Linked DNA regions of Homo sapiens: all the other regions are linked to region 1. The links are contacts of gene promoters, found by promoter capture Hi-C in blood cells and fetal thymus (Javierre and others, 2016). All regions are on one chromosome and are shown on one strand. Each heading gives the region's core, a stretch centred on a gene start or on the middle of the fragment in contact. The rest is flanking DNA. Distances are from core to core; before and after follow the strand shown.

What was found. Contacts are between HindIII fragments. The CHiCAGO score rates a contact against its expected background, and 5 or more counts as called.
Region 2: a contact is called between a fragment that was not itself captured here and the fragment with the promoter of MAP2K5 in region 1, in 2 of 17 cell types (M2 macrophages and fetal thymus). The highest score is 5.3, in M2 macrophages.
Region 3: a fragment that was not itself captured here is called in contact with the fragment with the promoter of MAP2K5 in region 1 in 3 of 17 cell types (activated CD4 T cells, fetal thymus and total B cells); the score reaches 5.4 in activated CD4 T cells.

Annotation. Positions count from the first base shown.
Region 1 is chr15:67,541,321-67,544,207 of GRCh38, forward strand. MAP2K5 (mitogen-activated protein kinase kinase 5) reads left to right here and starts at 1,383. Exons shown (of 22, transcript NM_145160.3): 1 at 1,383-2,150. The coding sequence starts at 2,016. MAP2K5-DT (MAP2K5 divergent transcript) reads right to left here and starts at 1,310. Exons shown (of 1, transcript NR_186334.1): 1 at 1-1,310. RefSeq lists enhancers at 323-823, 476-525 and a silencer at 1,399-1,518. The HindIII fragment of the contact is 6,106 bases long and covers 997-2,887 here.
Region 2 is chr15:67,788,025-67,790,911 of GRCh38, forward strand. The region is part of intron 21 of MAP2K5 (mitogen-activated protein kinase kinase 5); the gene reads left to right. Among named protein-coding and RNA genes, the nearest start is that of SKOR1, 36 kb to the right of the region's middle. RefSeq lists an enhancer at 2,830-2,887. The HindIII fragment of the contact is 3,625 bases long and covers 1-2,887 here.
Region 3 is chr15:67,767,383-67,770,269 of GRCh38, forward strand. MAP2K5 (mitogen-activated protein kinase kinase 5) reads left to right here. Exons shown (of 22, transcript NM_145160.3): 20 at 2,220-2,281. Among named protein-coding and RNA genes, the nearest start is that of SKOR1, 57 kb to the right of the region's middle. The HindIII fragment of the contact is 2,493 bases long and covers 121-2,613 here.

The DNA.
Region 1 (2,887 bases), core at 133-2,632:
CAAGCACCTTACTGTTAGAAGGGAAACTGACAAGCCTCCTCAACCGAGTTTATACAAAATTCAACCCCAGAAAGTAAAGCCAATTCGTGCACCTTCATAAGAAAGAAATAAAGGACGAACCTACACATTACAATTTGTAAAGAAACTTCTGTAGAGGCACCATCGTTCTACAACCTTATGCACTTTAAAATCTGAGGTAACAAGGCATTTGAAGATAACCAAGGTTGGCCGGGCGCGGTGGCTCACACCTGTAATCCCCCCAGCACTTTGGGAGGCTGAGGTGGGCGGATCACGAGGTCAGGAGTTTGAGACCAGCCTGGCCAACATAGTGAAACCCAGTCTCTACTGAAAATACAAAAATGAGCGGGCACGGATGGCGCACGCCTGTAGTCCCAGTTACTCGGCAGGGGTTGGGGGCTGGTGGGGGTGGTAGTGCTGAGGCAGGAGAATCGCTTGAATCCGGGAGGCTGAGGTTGTGGTGAGTAGAGGTCGCGCCGTTGCACTCCAGCCTGGGCGACGGAGCGAGACTCCGTCTCAAAAAAAAAAAAAAAAAAGATAACCAAGGTTTATTGCTACTTCCGTGATATCACCATATCACCAACTGCGTAAGCAGTGCTATTTAGTTGAAAATACATGGACTAGACCGAATATTTCTGCAACAGTTTAATAAGAGACGATGATGCGACTACTGCAGCTGTCCCCAGGCAATTAAACTCTTCGGCGAATTTCTTTACTATTGCTTTTGAACAGGGAACTGTTTGCTATTTTAGGGCACTCGTGCGGTAAAGAACTTCACTGAAAAATGCAAATATGTTTTGCTAATGTGGGAGAAAGATGATGATCCTCTGAACCTGTGACTTGGAAGGGGGGATAAAAAAGAACTATTTCTTGAATTCTTGCCTTGCTCTTGCTGATTCGATGCACACAACCCCACGAACATTCAGATTCATGGCTTGACAAAGTGGGGATAACCGGGAGCTGCAGCCCCGTCTTTGAAGCTTTTGTAAAGACAAACGGTCTGCAATGTTAAGCCTTAAATTGGCTTTTGGCGGACTCCAGCCTTTTACCCTTCGTTTGGTAGATGTTTTCACCTCGCTGTCATTAAGCAGGGTCAGGAAATGGAAGGGCCGTGACCGGGTCGCCGCGGGCGCTCTGTGGGCGATGAGGGTCTCCTGAGCGAGCAAGACCAGTCTCTCCCCGACTCGCCACGCGCCACGCGCCGCGCGCCGCGCGCCGGTTCCTCGGCTTCCCACGCCGGGGGCGCATCCTCCCGGGAGCTGCTGCCCTTTTCCAACATGGCGCCGCGGGAGGCGGGTCCCGCTCGTCGGCTCCCGGGGTTCCGGCGCCGCGCGTTTTGGTTCCGGAGTAACAGTGTCGCCGCCGCCTTCCTCCTCCTCCTCTCGCCGCTACCGCCGTCGCCGCCGCCGCAGCCGCCGCCAGTCCGCGCGGCCTCGGGTGGCCGGAGCTCAGCCTGCGCGCGCCGCGCCCTGTGTCTCCGGGTGGGGCAGAAGACTCGCCCCTTGAACCTCCCGCGGGGACTCTCCGTGGTGTGGCGGCCCTGGGGCTCTTTCTTAATAGCCCCGGACTGAGTCCCCTCCAGTCGAGGACCCTCTCCTAGTCCACTGACGAGCGGTGGACACCTGCCGCTGTATCTCCCCCAAACCGAGTCCTTGCCCTGCTGCCTCCTCATACCCACACGGCGGCAGAGACCTTCACCATAGCGTTCGCTCAACTCCAGAACCTTCCGACCTCCGCTAGTTCCTGCGGGCCTTTGCCCGCTTCCCGGTGCACCCTCCCCGGGAGACACCTCAGACCCCCGACAGCCTGGGCAGGCTCGGTGCCTGCGGGTGCGTTCCTGATCACCCCTCCCCTCTTCCCTCCCCCTCATCCTCCATTCCCTTGTTTTCACCCTCTGTCCTCTGCCCGTCACTCCCCTTGTCACCTCTTGGAGCCCCCTCCTAACCAGCGGCCAGTGGGTTTCCCATACCCCAGGATGTGAGCCTCTTTAACCTGTAATGCTGTGGCTAGCCCTTGGCCCCTTTCCTGCCATGGAGAACCAGGTGCTGGTAATTCGCATCAAGATCCCAAATAGTGGCGCGGTGGACTGGACAGTGCACTCCGGGCCGCAGTTACTCTTCAGGGATGTGCTGGTGAGTGGTAATCTCAGTGTCCGGATGCCAGCAAGGGGGACTCAGGGACTTGAGTAGTCAGCACCTTGACCACTGGTGACCTGAGCCAGTGGCAATGGCTACTGCTGGCTTCCTGTGGAGGCAGTTTTATTGCTTCAGGCACAGCATTGATAAATTGCAACCACTAAAACCTGGCAAATGTCTAGGACCCTGGGGAGATAGATCAATCTGACTGAACCCCTGCCCTCAGAGAGCTCATGGCCCGGGCTGGGACACACATATAGACACAACCACGCAAATGCAAACTGCTGAATCTAGAAGAGAGGTTTTTTCCCCCCAAGTGTTTCGGGGAATGTCCTTGGACAGATTCCAGCCTTGTTTTTCTACTGAGTTCTCTGAACTTGGTGACCAGCTGAGAAAGGGAAAAAGGACAACTTTAACTTACCATGTTTGAGCACACTGTTTCATTAATTTATTTTGAGACAGGGCCTCACTCTGTCGCTCAGGCTGCAGTGCTGTGGCACGATCTCGGCTCACTGCAGCCTCTGCCTCCTGGGCTCAAGCGATTCTCCTACCTCAGCCTCCCAAGTAGCTGGCACATGCCATCACACCTGGATAATTTTTGTATCTTGTAGAGACGAGGTATTGCCATGTTGCCCAGGCTGGTCTTGAACTCCTGCGATTTGCTTGCCTCGGCCTTCCCAAAGTGCTGAGATTACAGGTGTGAGTTACTGTGCCCAGCCTGAGCAAACTTAAAG
Region 2 (2,887 bases), core at 119-2,618, 250 kb after region 1:
GTCCTAAGGTGTGGAGACTGTTCTGGATACTTCTCAGCCCCTGATCTCACCTTGAAATTCTGCTGGTCTGAGGCAGCTTCCTCTTCATGGACCTGCAAGTGTGTTGCCTTTGATGTTGATTTATATGTAATTAGGGAACTACTTTGCTTTATATATTTGAGTCCCTGGTTGCAAGCATTATTTACTTAAACAATGTATAGCTCTGGGGCCCCCAGGCCTTCTCCCCTTTTTTTTATATGGAGATAAGATGTTTCCAGAAATTTGATTTGGCCTCAGCCAGTCAGCAGCCTTTTGTCCTGCCTTCCACTCACCTCCTTGTATCACTGCTGGGTTATACAGGCTGTCCCCAGGAAGGTAGCCTCAGGCTGTCTTAAGTTTGGAAAGTATTTCTCTATTTTATAAATACTCTGCTTCATTATTGAAGGTAGATGGGTAAGAGAGTCACCTTGAGCAAGTTACTTCACCCCTGGAAACTTTAGTACCCACTGCATGGAAAGGGGATAATAGTGACCAATTTACTGTTACTGTTTTTGTAAAAAGGCAAATAAGGTGAAGCACATAAGCACTTAATATAGTAGTTGGAAAATAATAGGTTCATAAGCAATGTTTATTCCTGCCATCATCCATATTTATTTGCTAAAACTAGTTTTTAAATTATGATTAAAAATTTGGCCAGACATGGTGGATCATGCTTAATTCTAGCTCTTGGGGGGCTGAGGCAGGAGGATCACTTTCGCCCAGGAGTTCGAGACCCGCCTGGGCAACATAGTGAGACCCTGTCTCTACAAAAACTTAAAAACTAGTTGGACATGGTGGCACTGCCTGTAGTCCCAGCTTCTCAGGATGCTGAGGTGAGAGGATCACTTGAGCCCATGAGGTAGAGGATGCAGTGAGCCATGATTGTACCATTGCACTCCAGCATGGGTGACAGAGAGAGACCCTGTCTCAAAAAAAAAAAAAAAAAATTACACAGTACAGAAGGATATACAGTAAGAAGTTAGTCTCCTTCCAATCCTCCATATCTTCCAGCCCTAATCTCTAGAGATAAGCATTGTTAATAGTAGCTTGGGTATCCTTCTAGAATTTTTAATTCTTTTTATTCTGCACCTTGCTTTTTTACTTAGTGAGTCATTGAGGTCTTTCCATATAATATAAAGATCAACCTTATTCTTAATGGCTGTATAGTATTCCATACTATGGATGTATCATATTTATTTATCCAGGACCCTGTCATAGGATATTTTGACCATTTCCATATTTTTTTGTTATTAAGACAGTGACTGTGTCTCTATGTATACATCTTTGTATACTGGATATGAGAATGTTAGCTCTTCTTCTTCATCTCTTCTGATACTAAATTATCAGATTTTAATCTTTGCCAACCTAATCAGTGGCAAAATGGTATCTAGTTGGCCAGGCGTGGCGGCTTAACGCCTGTAATCCCAGCACTTTGGGAGGCCAGGTGGATCACCTGAGGTCAGGAGTTCGAGACCAGCCTGGCCAACATGGTGAAACACTGTCTCTACTAAAAATACAAAAATTAGCTGGGTGTGGTGGGGGGACCCTGTAATTCCAGCTACTCTGGAGACTGAGGCAGGAGAATTGCTTGAACCCGGGGAGGTGGAGGTTGCAGTGAGCCGAGATCGCACCATTGCACTCCAGCCTGAGCAACAAGAGCAAAACTCTGTTTCAAAAAAAAAAAAGGATCTAATCATTTTAATTTATGTTTATTTTATTAAGTATGAGGATTAACACTTCTTTCATATGTTTGTTGGTCACATTTTTTTTTTCACATTCTTTGCCTGTTTTTCTGTTGAATGTGTTGTCTCTTCCTTCATCTTGTTGAAGATTGATTTTTCCATCTAGACAGTGAAGGGGGTGGACACAATTTCCAAGGCCCCATCCCACTTCTGCAGTCTGTGGTCCAGGCCCGAGTGTCCTTTGGGCAGCTTTTACACTACCAAGGTGCTATTTGCTCATGACCTTGTCAAGCAACATTGAGGTTGAATAGCCAATAGCTGGGGGTAAACTACAAGAGAGTCGTTTTCTTTTCCCTTTGTTTGGTTGTGTATCTTTCTTCCACTCTTAAAAAAGCAGGCTTGGAAATTGCAAGGCAGAGCTGGATTGAACTTCCTTTAAAGCAGCCTGTAGACATCAGGAATATTTATTTTTTCTATTTGTTTTAAGCCTGGGAAGACTGTGTGGTTTTCTCAACACTGTCCTGATGGAGCCCTGACCAGCAAGCGTGCAATGCCCCTAGCCCTAATGTGCCATTAATGATAGGTTAATGTACAGTATAATGTTTTTGGGACTACGGGTTCATTACACTTCTGAGTGTGAGGTCTTTCCACAGAGCGCCCAAGGTCCCATTGCATTATATCATGCAATAAAAATACCCTTTTCATATCACACACTAATAAACTGTATTTGAAATGCTGTCTGAGGGCACTGCCGTCTTGTCTGTAGGCTGTGCACAAGTGCAACAGTTGGGATTCCTTTTTTCTATTTTGTGGTTTAGTTACATGGAATTCTAAACCCAGAAGTCTGCTCATTCTTGTTTTAAATGGGGAGCAAGTTGGGTCTTTAGGGCTGAGGCTCAGAGGAGGGGCTGCTTACTGAGTGGTGAGGGTCTTTAAGATGTGGAGAGCAGCCTTTAATTCTCTACTGCAGCTGTCAGGAGAGCCAGTCACATAAAAACAAACAAACAAAAAAAAAAAAACCTGTGTCCTAATGTCTGCCACACTTAGTGCTGAACATGTGTTAGGTGTTATAAAAGTTTCCTTAGAAAAGGAGTATGATAAGTACTGCAAAATTTAGGCCACTGATAGTTATGACTATGGAACTGCCTCTGGGCTGGGAATTTCACACACACTGTCCTGTGAGGTTG
Region 3 (2,887 bases), core at 117-2,616, 230 kb after region 1:
TGAACGACATTAAGATAGCAGGCTTTTATTTTCCTAAATATTGCATTTTACAGCAACTACTACTCAGATACTTTCAGTACTACACCCTCAAAAAAAATCCATGAAGCGATGACTTAGAGAAGCTTCCTCACTGATCAGAGTCCATCATTTTTACACCTCAGACTTTGAACTATCTTTTTACTAATGGTTTTTGAGACAGTAAAATGTCATTTCTTGAACTGGGCCTTGTAGAATCTTACAGGCTTGGTGATATATATGGCTTTCCTAAAACAGGCTGCAGCTGAAATTGATATCATGTTTTATTTTTGCTCTTCAAACCGATGGGACTTCTGTGGCCATTTTATATACCTTTATTGAGGACTTGTCATGCTATTTTGTGTCTTGTTTCTTTTGAGTGGACTGTTTGATCAGCCACCCATCCACCTCCGTTTTTCATGTCGTCTCTGTGTAATGCCTGCGTGTAATCCTTTGAACTTGGCAAGATTTTATTTCACTCCCATTTTTCCTTTGTTTTCTTTTCCTCTTAACCCTTCTCTACTGATGAGAATTTTAATTTTAGAATTGCTAACCATCCCTTCTTCTGGATGAATAGATTAAATTTAAAGAGGACAGATATGCAAAAACCAAGAAACATTTTGTTCATGTTTCTTTTCTTGTAGCCTCTTCGGTGTTTTTTGTTGTCTGTTTTTTGTTGTTTTTGTTTGTTTTTTGGCTGCCTTGACCCCCTTAGTTCCTTTTGATTTAATTGTATTTTCCAGCACTTTCCAATTGTTTGAATTGGAAACAAAGCCTTAATAAGAGTTCTAGTTAATTTTCTGTCTTGTAATTACCGATCTCATTTTTCTGATAATTGGCCACAGCAATTATATGTATATTTACTAATCACATAGGAGGCTGTGCAATTGTATCTATCTGCCACCATTGATAATGACACGCATATTGCAGAGGTGCTTTTATCATCTTCTTTTTTCCACTACATCAAAGCTATTTCCTCTCGTTCTCAATAATGAATACATGCATGCATTTGACACAGTTGTGTGCTAGAGAAATTGTTTGGCTCCCACCAAATGCTGCATGCTCTGAGTTTCTTGCCTGCAGCGCTGGAAGGTTGTATGTAATGATATATTGCTCATCCAAATGGCCAAAGCACTCCAAAGCACAGTGAGATTAAAATAAGTCATTCCTTTGTTAATTTAAATAGGTGCATGTATCATACTTTGCAGGGCACTTTGTGTAGGGATGTCAGGGAGGAAAAAAGCCGCCGAAAGGTATTTTTAATAGCAAATGAGAATAGATGAGAATGGAGTCATTTGCAGCTGCCTACTTTATGTGGCTCTCTTGTTCCAACTGTAGGTCTAATGAGATGACTGTTAAAGTACTCTGCAGTGTAATTTTATTACATCCTGAGCTGTTACACTATAAACACAGTGGCGCTCTCTGTCATTCTTGGAAAAACTCCTAAATTCTTAAAGCCTTCCTTTGCAAACGGTAATGGGGTTTGCTCTTTGTATTATGTGGTGGTGGTTGTTTGTTGCTGTGTAGTTTTCTGCTTTTTTGACTGACTCCCACCTCCATCCTAGTTTTGGTTGGTGGTCAAGTTGGGAGTTTTTCATTGTATCCTTAATTCACTGGCTTTCTCATATGAGGAGTCTGCCTAGACTGGCAAATAGGCTGAAATTCCTTTTCAGGAAACAACTTCCCCTATAAAAGCCTTTCTATTAAAGTAAAAAAAAAAAATTGATCCAAATTATTCTGTTAGGGGCAAACAGTAAAGAGCAGTTGAATATACAAATAAATGTAAATAAAAAGGAAAGTGTAAATAAATAGCAAATCCAGTAAAAGAAACAAAGGTCAACACAAGAATAATTTCACAGCTCTTTGTTAATTACAAGACCATTTGTGTGTTACTTAAATAATCATTAATTTCTCATTTACACTTTCCCTACCTTCTCTCCTACCCTGTGGCTATCATTGTCCTTTTTTCACCTCCCCCTCTCTCAGCTCTCATGTTTCTCACCATTGTAAAATATGTGTGGCTTTAAATTTGGCATCTTTACCTAAATGTGTGGAATAAGGTAAAGACAGTCTTTTTAATTGGGTGAGGCCTTATTCTCATTGTATTCATCTTTATACTCATCCTTCACATGGGTGGGTGGGGAATATAAAGAAAGAGAAGGAACTGTTGTGACTTTTGGTGACATGTTTTTCCTCCATCACAGGATTCGCCCGTCCTTCCAGTTGGAGAGTTCTCGGAGCCATTTGTACATTTCATCACTCAGTGGTGAGCCCGTTTACAAACATGCCATGCCCTCAATGTAAATGATACATGCCATTAACTCGGCAGCTCCGTGAGACCTTATGGCTCTCCCTGCATCCTTTTGGAGACAGGAGGGACTTCGGGGCCTTGGGCAGATGGGGCAGCAAAGCTGAAGAAATTGTTTAAATTATGTAAACGTTATTTACACAAAGGGTCATAAGCATACTTCAGAGCCTTTTTCCTGATTTAATAAACTGCTGAAAGTCATGATACTTCTTTAAGCACAAATACTGTTGCCATCCTTTTTTAAAAAAAGAAATACACAATTTTATAGCCCCTACTGAACGGACGTACGAAGCTTATTTTTATTAATGTAACCTCAAGTTACCCATAAAACTGTCTTGTCACTTAGTGGAAGCAGCATAGTTTATTAATTCATCGGATTTTCAGTAAATAACTTTTATCTTTGGTTGTATTTTAAATACAATACTGGGGTACCATTTCAATGAATTTTGACATTTGGAAGACTATGAAAACAGTTCAGCCCACTTTAACCCTTAAAGAACTGAGAGGAGCCACAGGGGCCCTCAGAGCCTCTAGGCAATTCCTTGTCATTTTATATCTGAAGAA